Regions from separate parts of the Homo sapiens genome. Here all the other regions are linked to region 2. Evidence: promoter capture Hi-C in human tissues and cell types (Jung and others, 2019). All regions are on one chromosome and are shown on one strand. The core of a region is centred on a gene start or on the middle of the fragment in contact, and the rest is flanking DNA. Distances in the headings are between cores, read along the strand shown. Region 1 overlaps RNF13 (ring finger protein 13). Region 2 holds the start of TSC22D2 (TSC22 domain family member 2). Region 3 has its middle 11 kb from the start of LINC01998. Region 4 holds the start of LOC105374313 (a long non-coding RNA gene). Region 5 overlaps RNF13 (ring finger protein 13).

Region 1 (2,800 bases), core at 74-2,573, 480 kb before region 2:
TGAGTAAGATGGGTAGCTGTAGTAGGATTTGGAACAGAGGAGAGAGAGAATGTCTCAGTTAACTGTTAAAAGGATCCTTCTGCTGACATTAAGAATAGGTTATTAGATGGCAAAGGGTATAAACAGAGAGAACAGACAGGAAAGTTATTGTAGTAATTCAGGTGTGATATAAATGTGGCTTGGGGTGATATCAGTGGAGGAGAAGAAATCTTTAAATACTGGCTGTATCTGGAGATGGAATACACAGAATTTACTGATGGACTAGATATTGGAAGAGGAGACAAGGATGACTCCAGATTTTTTGGTCTGAACAACAAAATGGATGGTCTATTTAAGGACAGTCCTTAAATAGCAATAAGGATGGTTAATGTATGAGAGAGCAGGTTTTAGGAGGGAAATTGGAAGATTGGTATTGAACATATGGAATTTCAGATGTCTATTAGATGTTAGAAGTTTAAGAGAGAGGTCTGAACTGGAAATACCAGCATGAAAATGTATTTATATCATTAGACTGGATGAGATTACCAAGAGAGTGCGTACAGAGAGAGAGAATACCAAAGACACCGTGGGGCATTCCATCATTCAGTAGAAGAGGAATCAGAAGTGGCAGCAGTGGAGACTGAGAAGGTGTGACCAATTACATAGGAAGAAAATCAGGAGAGTGTGATTTACCAGAAACCCAGTGATGCAAATCTATCAGGGAGCAAGGAATGATAACCTGTGTCAGTGCTGCTGAACATAAGTAAGATGAGAGCTCAGTATTGACCACTAGAGACTATTGATGATCTTGATGAGCAGTTGACAGAGTGGTCAGGCCAAAAATCTGATTGTAGTTGATTTAAGAGAGAATGGTGGAAAGAGAGGAATTAGAGATAGTTTTTGTAAGAAGTTTAACTAAAAAAGGGAGCAAAGAAATGGGGTCATAGCTGCTGGGGGAAGTTGAGTCAAGAAATAACAGCATGTTTGTTTGCTAAAGGAAATTGATGTAGGTGACAGATGGGAGAGTCCCTGTAATGTTCTTGAGAAGGCAAGAGGAGATTGGATATCTTGCACAAAAAGGTGAACTGGCCTTAGGTAGTATCATAGAGACTTGAGCTAAGGGAAAGTAGAATATGTGGGTGAAAAATCACAGTAGGTGGGTATTTGTAGTGGTGAGTCTGTGGAAATGTTCTTTGCTTTAATTTCTCTCAGGTAGGAAATCACCAACTGAGGGTGAGGACAGAGGAGGAGGTATTGGAGCTTTTAAGAACAGAGGTATAAAATACTATTATTCCAGGAGAGTAGGAGGAGGAATGGACTAGGGAAATATAATATGGTTGCTTGGCAGCCTGAACCCATTTTGAACCCATCAGCATAACTGTTTTTCTCTATGGAGTGGTGTTTATCATCACTTTTTTCAAAATGTGAAGTATAACATTTATACAGAAGAGTATGTAGAATACATATTTCTAGAATCATCCAGTTCAAGAGATAGAACATTACTGCCACCCCAGGAGCTGTTATGTTCCCTTCTAGATAAATAATCCTTTCTTGTCCTCTGGAGGTAATCACTATCCTGGTTTATGATAATTTCACTGCCTTTCTCAAGTTGTACCACATACGAATGCATACCTAAACAGTTGGCTTAATTTTGCCTATTTTTGAATTGTATTTTTCTTACCTCTGATTAATTTTTTAATGAAATTTATACACTTAGTTGCATTTAGGTATAGTTCATTTACTTTCATTCTGTCTTTTAAAGATTTTACTTACCCACTTTACTGTTAATTGACATTCTTTTTTTTTCAGTTTAGGGCTATTATAAATCATACTTTTGAGAATATACTTGTACATATATCCTGGTGCATATGTCCATGAATTTCTTTAGCATATATACCTAGAAGTAGATTAATTTGATCATAGTATATAGCTATTTTCAATTTTATTGGGTAATGCAAAATCATTTCCAAAGTGATTGATGGTACCAATTTCTACTCTCACCAACAGTCTATAGGAGTTCCTGTTGTTCTATGTATTTATCCAATACTTTGTACTGATGGACTTTTAAATTTTAGCATTCTGGTGGGTTTATAACTCGTTGTTTTACTTTTTATTTCCCTTCTTGCAATGAGGTTAAATATCTGTTCACATTATTTGCCAGTTGGATTTTCACTTTCACGAAGTACCTTTCATGATATATGCCCGTGTGTCTGTTTCATATATGGGAGGAATTCTTTATATGTTCCTACAAGCCTCCAGAGGGAGGCGTAGAGTATGGCAATTTAGTTCTTCAATAATTCTTGTGTTTTAACTGTCTTTTTCTAGTTTATGGACCAGAATTCTTGCCTTTCATGGTAGTATTCTTCTATTTTTGTTTTGTTTTGTCTTGATTTGTTTTTTTGAGGCGGAGTCTCGCTCTGTCCCCTAGGCTGGAGTGGAGTGGTGTGATCTCAGCTCACTGCAAGCTCCGCCTCCCGAGTTCACACTATTCTCTTGCCTCATCCTGCCGAGTAGCTGGGACTACAGGCGCCCGCCACCATGCCTGGCTCCTTTTTGTATTTTTAGTAGAGATGGGGTTTCACCATGTTAGCCAGGATGATCTCGATCTCCTGACCTCATGATCTGCCCACCTTGGCCTCCCAAAGTGCTGGGATTACAGGCGTGAGCCACCATGCCCAGCCTCTTCTGTGTTTTTAGAGTACGTTTTCTATCCCAAGATCATACAGATGTTATTTTATATTACCTTCTGAAAGCTTTATATTTTTGTCTTTTGTGTTTAATCCACATGAATTGATTGTGTAAAACTGGAGTCCAATTTAAG
Region 2 (2,866 bases), core at 256-2,755:
AAACTGCCTCTAACAATTACTGAAATTACAGACTTAGAAATGAAACATTCCATTAGCTATCTCTGCCACAATAGCATAACGTTACATTTTGTTCCATTACTTTCGCCCAGCCCCTTAAGAAATAGGGATTTTATGTCGTCTTATTTCACATTCTGACTCCAGTCACTTGGGTTTGGAGGGCATGGTTTCCACTAAAGTTAAAAGACCTAGCTCTATAAATTACAACTAAAGACCTAAAAAATTCTCTGCAAATTTAATTCTCAAAACATCTTTTGGGATAAAAAGTATTTCTATTCTTCAAAGATTAGAGAACCGAGTTCAACGATTTACTGATTTAAGTTATCATTATGTGATTGCTAACGCTGCAGTAGATATGAAATCACGATTTCCATTAAGACTTAGATTTTACCTAAATGACGACTGCTTTAGTATGTCAAAGTTTAGGAGCCCATCCCCATTTTTTTAAACTGCTTAAAAGAATGGCCTTAGCATGCCAAAGTTTAAGAGCCCATCCCCATTTTTTTTTAACTGCTTAAAAGAATGGCCTTACCATTTTCTTTGGCCAGGAACTAACTACAAGATGATAAATTTGCCAGTACTTTCTTTTCATAGTTGTTCTTTGCATTGGAACAGGAAAGGGTGCTTTATCACTCGTTACGGTTGTTCATGGCCCAATCCAAATCATATAATACGCTGGCTGCTACTAACAGTTTTAGAATAAACAAAAAGAAGAACTATAATGCAGTAGGTTCTACATTTATAAAGCCCATGAGCTGATTTCGTGCCGAAAGTAAAACAGTCTCAAGAGTTTAAATGAATCCTGGAATCACAGCAAATTCAGGAAATTTAGGAATATGTTGGTAACCCTTAAGCTTTTTAAAAACTGACTACACCCTGGGCAAGTAACCACCCCCTGATGCCGTTGTGGGAGACAGAATTTCTGGCAGGAAGATAATTTTCTGACTCAATCTGGCTTGCCGTTCTTGTTTAATCATCCCCATTTCTCTGAACATTTTACTCCTCTGACTACAATGGTCAACATTTATTTTCAGAAGTTTTAAAGTGATTTAGTTCTTCCAGCCGCACCTCTTTTTATCCCATCTAAGTCTTCCCCAGCCCCCATTCCTATCGCCCTCGTTTCACTAAGATTTTGCTAAACATTAGACACAAGCACATGACCTCCAGTCTTCCACTGTCTCGGAACAAACCGACATAAAAACATCTGATTAGTTCCATTGTAAGCTTCCCTAGGCTTAGAATTTAAAATGGTCTTTAGCTCGTCAATGCTTAAAGAACCTACAACACAAAATTTAAATTTTAAAAATTTTAAATAAAGAAACCGCTCCCTTTTTTAACCTTTAGCCCCGCCCATTGCCCCCCACCCCAGGTTCCACGCGAAACTGCAGGAAACCGGAGGGGGCGGAGCGGTGACGTCACGACGCCGGTGCGTCACGGAACGGCGGCGGCTGCGGCGCTGGCGGTGGCTGCGGCAGCGGCGGCATTTTAGTCGGCAGCGGCGGCGGCAGCGGGGCTGCTGCTCCTCCCAGCATCCCTGGCGCGGCCATTTCAGCCCCATCTTGGCCCAGCGGAGGGAGCTGCAGCCGCCGCTTCAGCAGTTTGAATTTCAGTTTCTTCGGGGTTTAGGAATTGGGCGCACCGAGGAGGAGCCGGAGAAGCCACCACCGCTACCTCACACAGCCGGGGCGCCTCCGGTCCCGTGCCAGCGGTCTGCCGCCGCCGCCCCTCTCTGAGAGAAGCCGCGAGGGGAGGCCGAGACCGCCGTCGCCGCCCGCCCGCAGGGGTGGTTCCCCCTGTAAGGGGAGGACCGAGCCGGCTTTCCCCTCCCCCAGAGCGGGTTTCCGCCTGAGGCAGTCGACATGTCCCTGGGGCTGAGCTCCGGCTAGAGCCGGGGAGGGAGGGCCGCCTGCCCGCGCCACAGCCCCACCGCCCGCCCGCGGACCTTCAGCCAGCTCCGGCCCGCGGCTCCCGGCTGAATTAGGCATCTCCGACTCCGGACTCGCCGCTCCTTCCCTCAGTCAGAGAGCCCAGCGCTGACGCCGGCACCGGCCTGAGGAGCCCGAGCGGGGCAGCACCGCCCCTCACGCCGCCGCCACCGCCTCCTCCTCCTCCTCTTCGCCCTCCCACTCCCACCCCCAGCCAAGGCCTGCTGACCGCGCCGAGCGCCGAGCTGGACTGACCACGGCTGCCCGGAGACGAGAGAGGAAGCAGCCGGCCCGCCCCTGGGTTCGCGCTCTCGCCGCCTCTGAGGGAATTGAATTGAGGCGCCGCGGCTGCGAGAGCTAAAAAGGAAGGAGGAGCCGCCGCGGGACTGAGACGGGGGCAGAGCCGAAGAGACCGACACAGAGAAGGAAACGAGGAGGAGGATGTCTCACCGGGCGGCCAGCGCCTGGATCAGCCCGTGACTCTTAACAGCGGCGGGCCTCAGACCCCAGCGCAGACTCGGACTTTGTCTTTGGGGGCCCGTGCTCTGCCCTCCCCGGTTTCCGACAGGACCCAGAGGAGCCGGCGTGCCTCTCTGCCCTCCAGCCTTCTTCACCATGTCCAAGATGCCGGCCAAGAAGAAGAGCTGCTTCCAGATCACCAGTGTCACCACGGCCCAGGTGGCCACTAGCATCACCGAGGACACCGAGAGCTTGGACGACCCGGACGAGTCACGCACAGAGGACGTCTCCTCCGAGATTTTCGACGTCTCTCGGGCCACGGATTATGGCCCTGAGGAGGTCTGCGAGCGCAGCTCTTCCGAAGAGACGCTTAACAATGTTGGGGATGCGGAGACTCCCGGGACCGTCTCCCCAAACCTCCTCCTAGATGGGCAGCTGGCAGCGGCGGCTGCTGCTCCCGCCAA
Region 3 (2,700 bases), core at 24-2,523, 340 kb before region 2:
CCGGAATTCCTACCAGAAATTAACACGTGCTAGGGAGTCATTTTCCTTTTGTAACAAAAGTAATGCAAAGTAATTGAAAGCAATGACATTATTTCATCCAAATAGTATAGGATGGATCAAGTAGAAAAATGTGTTGGGAAATTAAATTTACTAGGTAAACACAGCCACAGAGAGCTCACAGCTGTTTACAGCTCAGTTGTATTTATGGGATGACATAGCCTAGCCATCAGGCATACTCGGGATGACTGGGCTGTACATTCTGGCAGTCTGTCCCATCTGTTCCAGCTTCTTCATTTTCACAGCCATCCCAGGCCACCTCCTCTTTCAACCTGCCCTACACTGAGGAAGTGAGGAAGATTGTTCTGGCAGCAATTTTCATCACATCATATTATTCTCCAGCCTTATGTTCAAACTCTTTTGACAAGTAGCTCCCACTTCACTCTTAGTAATCTAACATGTCCCCTTGTAATTGCTTCTCAATCATGCATCTATAGCTCCTCTCATTGCTTAATATTAAAGGGAATACATCTGTCTTCACATTGCTTTGAATTCTCACCATTCCCATACCTAGTAGGCACTGAAGGGGGATTTCTGATTAATAATCCACTTAGATATACCTACCCCATACATGTCACCATGGTAACTCTACACCTTGCTAAAAGTTGATGGCATAGTGTGTAATGACTTGGCTTCTTCCCCATTCAGCCACTAATCCTGTAGATGGATTATTTTGTTCCTACCCCCACAAAGCCTGGAGAGCTCTGTAGCCCATGAAAAAATCAGAAGAGTTGCCAGCCTGCTACCTGATTCCTCTCTGCCTCCAAACACAATGCAAAACAAGCTCCAGTTTCCATGCTGAACATAAATAGAGATTGTTCTTCAACTTCAGAAATGTCCTTAGCCGAAAATGTACAAGCCTAGCAGTTACAGGAATTTTCTCTCTCCATCTTACAGGGCAATGGCTGAGGTCTTGGGAACTCTTTCAGGAAGCCCACTAGGGAGTGAACCTTCATTTGTCCTGATTGCCCTGTGTTACAGAGGGAGGGAATGTCCCCCCAACCAGTAGCTAGAAACCAGGGCCAAACCCATGAAAACTCATGGATTCATTCCATGCCTCCTTCTCTGATATCCTACTGCCAGGCACAGCCACCGTTTTGCACAAATCTGGGTGAATGGTGCCCCTGAGGCTGGAAACTATGGTGGGCCTGGTGCTGAGCTTCATCTTGAGCCTAGTGAAGATGATGCTACGCTTCTTGAGAGGCGCTCGGCCATTTACCCTGTGCTGTGTCCCAGGAAGCCGACTGGTATGGGCTGCATTGAGTCTTTTGCCCTCCAACTTCCTATTGGATAATGGGGACCTGTGACAAGAGGTTGGACAATGAGAAGGAGGAGAGTGACCAGTGAACCTGCCTCCCTGCCAGTTTGCTGTGGGTTTGTTACTAGCAGCTGTTGCCCACCAGACAGTCCTCTCAGAGTTCAGGCAAACACTCTGATGACCCTGGTGTTACTAGCCCCAGAGTATTGCCCTATCCCCTGTTGCCCTCATCTTTCTAAATGATTCCTTTACTAAACTCCTTTGACTCAGTTTGAGTGTGCCATAATCTCTTTTTTGCAGTAACTCTGACCATACAGTGGTAAATAAGATAAAGCCTTGGCCTCCTTGGAGCTTAGGTTAGTGTGGAACAAAGAAAGACAACAAATGTGTTTGCAAATACAATCTATGTAATTTCAGATAGTGACAAAAGCTTTAAAAAAAGAAAGTACACCAGGGTAATGGAATGGCTGGAGAGGGTCTAGGGAGGAGAGCTACTTTTCTTCAAGTAGCCAGGAAAGGCCTTTCTGAAGAGGTGACATCTGACCTGGCACGATGACAGTGAGAATGAGACAGCCACACCAGCATGTAGAGAACAATCTAGAGGGGGGAACACTGATGCAAACAGCCCCCAACAGGAAACAACTGGAACAGAATGGAACCTACTGGACAAGGGGAGAGTGGCAGGAGCTGAGGTCAGGAAGGAAGGGCATAAAAGAGTTTAGATTTGATCATTAGGACACTGAGAACTTATTGTAGGATTTGGGCAGGGAGTTGTGATGGTTACTATCCTAACAGAAATTAGATGAAACAATCAAAGGGTTTAACTGAAGACAATGCAATGAGAGGATTATTTTCTTAAATGTGGGCAGGATTAGGAAACTAATAAAGGGTGGTGAAGCATCCAGGAGCTAGCAACAGAGAGAAGCTCTTATCATGGGGAGAGGGTCCAGGTGCGGATGAGTGACATGGCACGCCTGGACTTCTGAGGACAATGGAGCACACAGCGATCTGAACATTTGACACAAATTACAGAGGCTGGAAAGAAAGAATTTCACATCTTCCAATCAATACCCTTAGTCCAAATATTTGTCAGCAAACTCTAACTGTTTTCATAAACTTTAACGCCTTCAGGGCTCAGTCAGGAACCTGTGAGGAATTCAGGTGAAAACCAATAATGAGCAGGGGGGCGGTGGTGAAAAGGTGAGGCTGGCCTTACTGAAGGGCATTCAGATGGAAGCATTACACAGTCCTGAATTCAGGAGAGCTGTCTGGTTCCTGGAGCCAAACTGCAGCTTCAGAGATGATTTATTCAGCAAGTTTCCCAGCTTGCAAAACTTTCCAAAGTCCCCTTATTGCTGTACAATCATTGCTGTTTGGGGGCCAGT
Region 4 (2,904 bases), core at 319-2,818, 310 kb before region 2:
CCAGGCACTGCTTAGCCATCGTTTACTGTGGCTCAAACACCTACAGCATATACAGCAATGGCCTACACAGAAATGGACATCTTGTCCTCACAAAGATTACAAAACAGCCTGAAGCTTTGCAGGCACCTTCTGGTTTGTGATCCTAGGACCGTCTATGTGCCTTGGTTTCCCCATCTGTAAAATGGCAGTGACAGAAAAGGCAGAGCTTGCTCAACTCTGGGGACATATTCAGGTAGAATGATGCAATGTGACTAGCATCCCCTGAAGGCTGAGGGTTGAATGAAAGATGAAACATGAAACCTTTCACCTGGTGCCTGGTCTGTACTGGCCTGAACCACCCAGCTGTGTGACAGTCAGCTGCTCAGGAAAGTGCAGGGTGAGTCAGTCGGAAGTTGAGTCCAGGCTCCTTTCTTTCTTACAACTTTGTGACTCCCGCAAGCTCATTCCCCTAGAGGCATCACTTTCATGTATTGTCTGGAGCAGTTCCTGGTATATTATTGGCATGTAATAAATATTTGTTGAAATAATGAATGTGCACTTATGGATCTCAGTTTCTTACTTTACATAATGGGGACAATGATGTACCTCATGGGAATGAATTAGGATTAATTGAGAAAACAGTTTAAAGAGACCTGATACACATATGCAGATAATTGAAATTGGTCCCCTTCCTTACACCAGATACAAAAATTAACTCAGGATGGATTAAAGACTTAAATTTAAAACCCCAAATCAAAAAATCAAAGTGCCATGTTGCTACTGATGAAAGCTGGCTCAGAGGACATGGCTTAAGCATGTGAACACGTGGGTCCTAACACTCCACTCAGTTTAAGACCCTGTACAGATTCTTTGGACATACTGGACCACTTCAGGCCTTCCCTGCAAGGGCCATTTCCATAAGCTTATGTGTGAAGTTGCAGAGTCAGCCTCCCTCTGTAGCTGAGAGGACCAGACAGAGCTGAGTATTTTCAGGCCCTTCTCCCAAATGCAGCATTCAGTTAAGTTGGCTCCCCCAGGGATGAGAGTGTGAAGGGACATAAAGATGCTCCTGGAAGAAAATGCTAAGGGAACCCTCCCCAAATGAAGTGGTTAATCAACCCCTTCGATGGAAAACTAAGGGGACATGGGAAGGATATGTCCCCTCTGCTAACATTTCTTATCTTGGACCTGTGTGCTTTATGCTTTTCTGTAATATTGGAATACTTTATTAAGTGCCAGTGAAAAAGAATTTTATTTCCTTCTTTTTATTTCTTTTGATTGATCTTAGATATGAAAATTTTTATTGGGAAAGACTGTATATATATTTGGCTACTATAGCAGGCATATTAATTACCTATTGTGCCATAATCAATAATCCCATACTGCAGTAACTTAAAACAGCAATAAATATTTATTATTTCACATAGTTTCTGCAAGTCAAGAATTCAGGCCAGGCACGGTTGCTCATGCCTGTAATTCCAGCACTTTGGGAAGCTGAGGCGGGTGGATCACAAGATCAGGAGATCGAGGCCATCCTGGCCAACATGGTGAAACCCCGTCTCTACTAAAAATGCAAAAATTAGCTGGGCATGGTGGTGGGTGTCTGTATTCTGAGCTACTCAGGAGGCTGAGGCAGGATAATCGCCTGAACCCAGGAGGCAGAGGTTGCAGTGAGCCAAGATCACGCCACTGCACTCCAGCCTGGGCGACAGAGTGAGACTCCATCTCAAAAAAAAAAAAAAAAAAATTCAAGAGTGGTTTAGCTGGGTGGTTCTGCTGAAGTCACATAGCAAGTGGTGGAGCTGGAATTTGATCTCAGATCCATTAAATAAAGTTTAACTTCTCAAACAGTTCAAATCAGTAGTTCCCAGCTAATGCCTTTCCAAATCACCTGAAGAATCTAATTCAAATGTAGTCTGTTTCAGCAGGGTTTGGGTCAGGTGAGGTTCTGCATAGCTAACAATACCCCAATTATGCTATGCTGTTGCCAAGGGACCTCACAAGGAGGTAGTACATCCACTGCTAGTGGCTATACAAAGGAGTGAAGCCTTCTAAGTACAGTACCTGGCACAACGAATTGTCAAGCAAATGGCAAATCTTCTCTGCAGAGGGGAACTGAGACCCAGTACTCACAATCCATTCTGGAGTCTCCTCATAATCCTGAAGAGGGAAGCCCAGAGGAAATCATCTGGTGAGCTTATCTCATTCTTCTAAAAAAGCGATGAGGATTGGTTTGAGGAGAGCTGCAGTGGGAGGCTGAGAGTCAAAGCCACACTATTTCTGGAGGCTTCGTCCTTTTTCCTGGGATCAGACTCTACTTTTGTGCCATCATCCACCTTTGGGGAGGTCCATGAAGGTCATCTGCTTTTGGGGGTGCATTTGGGACCAGGCAGGAAGCTGCACTTCCCAACTTACCCAAACACAGCTTCTCAACGGGGGCTTCCAAGTTGGGGGAAGGGCTGTGCATGAAGCAGTCTGTGTGTGGGTGTTGGGGAGCTGAAGGGACATCCCCAGCTGGGCCAGGGAACTCTGGTCTCTCCTTGTTTGTCTCCTACAACTGTGGCAACAACACAAAGCCTCTCAGTATGTGCATATTGCTTTGTAGTATCTCTTAGAGAGACAAGATAATGACTATTTTTTCTTAGTTTATCCATGAAGTTAACATATAATACATTAATTGCATTTAGGAGCATTTATTCAACCAAGTGTAACTAGTAATTTCAAAAAATGCCCAATAATACTGATGTTACAGCACACTTGGAGTGCTTTGCTCCAGAAATACCAAGCATTTCCTCCGTTTGGCACTGGGGAGAATCCTGGCACTTTGCTTCAGAAACAAATCTCTTTAATTCCTGCGGACTCTGCATCAAGCCTGCATTGCTCTTTGTTTTTTCCAAGGCTAGGACCTGGGCTGTTTCCCTTCTT
Region 5 (2,751 bases), core at 105-2,604, 460 kb before region 2:
GCTATTGATTTGTAGTTTCATTGTGCTGAGGTTGGAGAATATATTTGTATGACTTCAATCTTCTTACATTTAAGGCTTTTTTCGTGGTCTAATATGTAGTCTGTCTTGGAGAATATTACATGTGCGTTTGAGAATGTGTATCCCCTGTTGTTGGGTGAAGTGTTCTGTATATGTTTGTTAGTTCCAATTGGTCTAAAGAGTTATTCAAGTCATCTGTGTCTTCTGTTTGATCTTCTGTCTGGTTGTTCTATTCTTACTGAAAGTGGGGTATTGAAGTCGCCTGTTAGTATTGTGTTGCTGCTCATTTCTTCTTTCAGTTCTTTTTTTTTTTTTTAAAGGCGGAGTTTCGCTCTTTTGCCCAAGCTTGAGCGAAGTGGTGCAATCTTGGCTCACTGCAACCTCCTGCCGCTGGGCTTAAGCGATTCTTCTGCCTCAATCTCCTGAATAGCTGGGATTATAGGCGCCTGCCACTACACCCAGGTACTTTTTTGTATTTTTAGTTGAGATGAGGTTTCACTATATTGGCCAGACTGGTCTCCTGACCTCTGGTGATCCGACCGCCTGGGCCTCCCAAAGTGCTGGAATTACAGGCGTGAGCCACCGCACCTGGCCATCTTCCTTCAGTTCTGTCAATGTTGCTTCACGTATTTGACTGCTTTGATGTTAGATGTGTATATATTTATTGTTATATCTTTTTGGTGAATTTACCATTATGTCATTATATAATGCCCCCGTTTTTCTCTTATGATAGTTTTTTTTCTTAAAGTCTATTCTGTTTGATATATGTATGGCCACTCCTGCTCTCCAGTTTCTCATTTGCATAGGATATCTTTTCCACCTTTTCACTTTTAGCCTATGTGTGCTTTTTGTTTGTTTGTTTGAGAAGGAGTCTTGCTCTGTCACCCAGGCAGGAGTGCAGTGGCGCGATCTCGGCTCACTGTAACCTCCACCTCCTGGGTTCAAGCAATTCTCCTGCCTCAGCCTCCCGAGTAGCTGGGATTACAGGCACACGCCACCATGTCCAGCTAATTTTTTGTATTTTTAGTAGAGATGGGGTTTCACCATGCTGGCCAGGCTGGTCTCGAACTCCTAACCTCATGATCTGCCCACCTCGGCCTCCCAAAGTGCTGGCATTACAGGTGTGAGCCACCGTGCCTGGTCCCCACGTGTTTTTAGATATAAAATGATTTTCTTGTAAGCACTTTATTGTTGGATCTCATATTTTTTAGCCATTCAATCAATGTCTTGGTATGTTTGATCTTTTTACATTTAAAATAATTACTGACAGGAAAGGACTATTACTTTTGTTCATTGTTTTTTGTCTGTCTTACCGCTTTGTCTTTCCTCTCACTGTGTTTTTTGTTGATTTTTTCTAGTGACGTTTTGATTCCCTTATTTCCCTTTGTATATATTCTACAGATATCTTCCTTATGGTTACCCTTGCAATTCCATAAAACATCTTAAAAGTTCTAACAATCTGTTTTAAACTGACCTTTTAAATATTTCAAACTGACAAATTAACTTCAATCACATATAAAAACCATGATCCTTGTCTCTCTGCCTCCCATTCTATGTTATTGATGACTCAAATTGCCTGTTTTTACATTGCTTATCATTTAATGTAATTATTACTTTTTATGCTTTTAGAAAAATTCTGGGCCACGTGCCGTGACTCATGGCTGTAATCGCAGCACTTTGGGAGGCCAAGGTGGGCGGATCACTTGAGTTCAGGAGTTTGAGACCAGCCTGGGCAAAATGGTGAAACCTCATCTCTACAAAAAAACACAAAAATTAGCCAGGCATGGTGGCAAGTGCCTGTGGTCCCAACTACTTGGGGGACTGAGGCAAGAGGATGGCTTGAGCCTGGGAGGCGAAGGTTGCCGAGAGTCGAGATCATGCCACTGCACTCCAGCCTGGGTGACAGAGCCAGACCCTGTCTAGAAAAAAAAAAAAATTATATACCAGATTTATAAGTGATTTACTCACCTACATTACAATAATACAGGATTCTATATTTGTCTATATATTTAACTTTACCTGGGACTTATGTTTTTATTAATACATGGTTTTATGTTCCTGTTTATCAGCTTTTCACTTACTTGTAGGTGCTCTTTTAGAATTTCCTATAGAATAAGTCTAGTGGTGATAAACTCCCTCAATTTTTATCTGAGAAAGTCTTAATTTCTGTTTTTGTTTGTTTTGAAAGGGCACTTTTGCTAAACATAGCATTCTTGATTGGCACCGCTTTTCTTTCGAATACATCATCCCACTTCCTAGCCTGCAGGGTTTCTGCTAAGTCTGCTGAGAATCTAATATGAGCTCCTTTGTATGTACTGGGTTGCTTTTTTTTTTTTTTGCTGCTTTCAAGATCTCTGTCACTAGACAGTTTAATTATAATATGATTATATGTCTCAGTGTAGATCCCTTAGATCCCTTTAGATTTATTCTGGTTGGAATTATCTGAGATTCTTGAATTTGTATATCCATTTCTCTCAGATTTGGGAAGTTTCCAACCATTATTTCTTCACATAGGTCCTCTACCCCTTTCTTTCTTCTCCTTCTGAGGTTCCCATAATGCATGTTTTCTTCTATTTGATGCTATCCCAGAAGTCCCTCAGATTCTCTTCATTTTCCTTCATTCTTTTTTTTTTTTTCTTCTCTTCATTTCTTCTCTTTTTCTTCTTTCTTTTTTGGGGATTTATCCTGCTTGGTGTTCTCTTAACTTCCTGGATCTGTGGTGGGGTGTCTGAA

What was found. The method cuts DNA at HindIII sites, captures the fragments that hold promoters and counts their contacts. A contact is called where the count stands out against the background at its distance.
Region 1: a contact is called between a fragment that was not itself captured here and the fragment with the promoter of TSC22D2 in region 2, in 1 of the 25 tissues and cell types used here (hippocampus).
Region 3: a fragment that was not itself captured here is called in contact with the fragment with the promoter of TSC22D2 in region 2 in 1 of the 25 tissues and cell types used here (IMR-90 fibroblasts).
Region 4: a fragment that was not itself captured here is called in contact with the fragment with the promoter of TSC22D2 in region 2 in 1 of the 25 tissues and cell types used here (mesenchymal stem cells).
Region 5: a contact is called between a fragment that was not itself captured here and the fragment with the promoter of TSC22D2 in region 2, in 1 of the 25 tissues and cell types used here (dorsolateral prefrontal cortex).

Annotation. Positions count from the first base shown.
Region 1 is chr3:149,923,850-149,926,649 of GRCh38, forward strand. All of the region lies in intron 8 of RNF13 (ring finger protein 13), which reads left to right. Among named protein-coding and RNA genes, the nearest start is that of PFN2, 46 kb to the right of the region's middle. The HindIII fragment of the contact is 7,700 bases long and covers 1-2,800 here.
Region 2 is chr3:150,406,793-150,409,658 of GRCh38, forward strand. It overlaps TSC22D2 (TSC22 domain family member 2), which reads left to right and starts at 1,506. Exons shown (of 3, transcript NM_001303264.2): 1 at 1,506-2,866. The coding sequence starts at 2,559. RefSeq lists a silencer at 1,597-2,196 and an enhancer at 2,567-2,616. The HindIII fragment of the contact is 4,156 bases long and covers 1,058-2,866 here.
Region 3 is chr3:150,069,077-150,071,776 of GRCh38, forward strand. No RefSeq gene overlaps it. Among named protein-coding and RNA genes, the nearest start is that of LINC01998, 11 kb to the right of the region's middle. The HindIII fragment of the contact is 4,741 bases long and covers 1-2,700 here.
Region 4 is chr3:150,094,428-150,097,331 of GRCh38, forward strand. It overlaps LOC105374313 (a long non-coding RNA gene), which reads left to right and starts at 2,016. Exons shown (of 3, transcript NR_136187.1): 1 at 2,016-2,170. The HindIII fragment of the contact is 4,543 bases long and covers 1-2,904 here.
Region 5 is chr3:149,947,088-149,949,838 of GRCh38, forward strand. The region is part of intron 8 of RNF13 (ring finger protein 13); the gene reads left to right. Among named protein-coding and RNA genes, the nearest start is that of PFN2, 22 kb to the right of the region's middle. The HindIII fragment of the contact is 8,745 bases long and covers 1-2,751 here.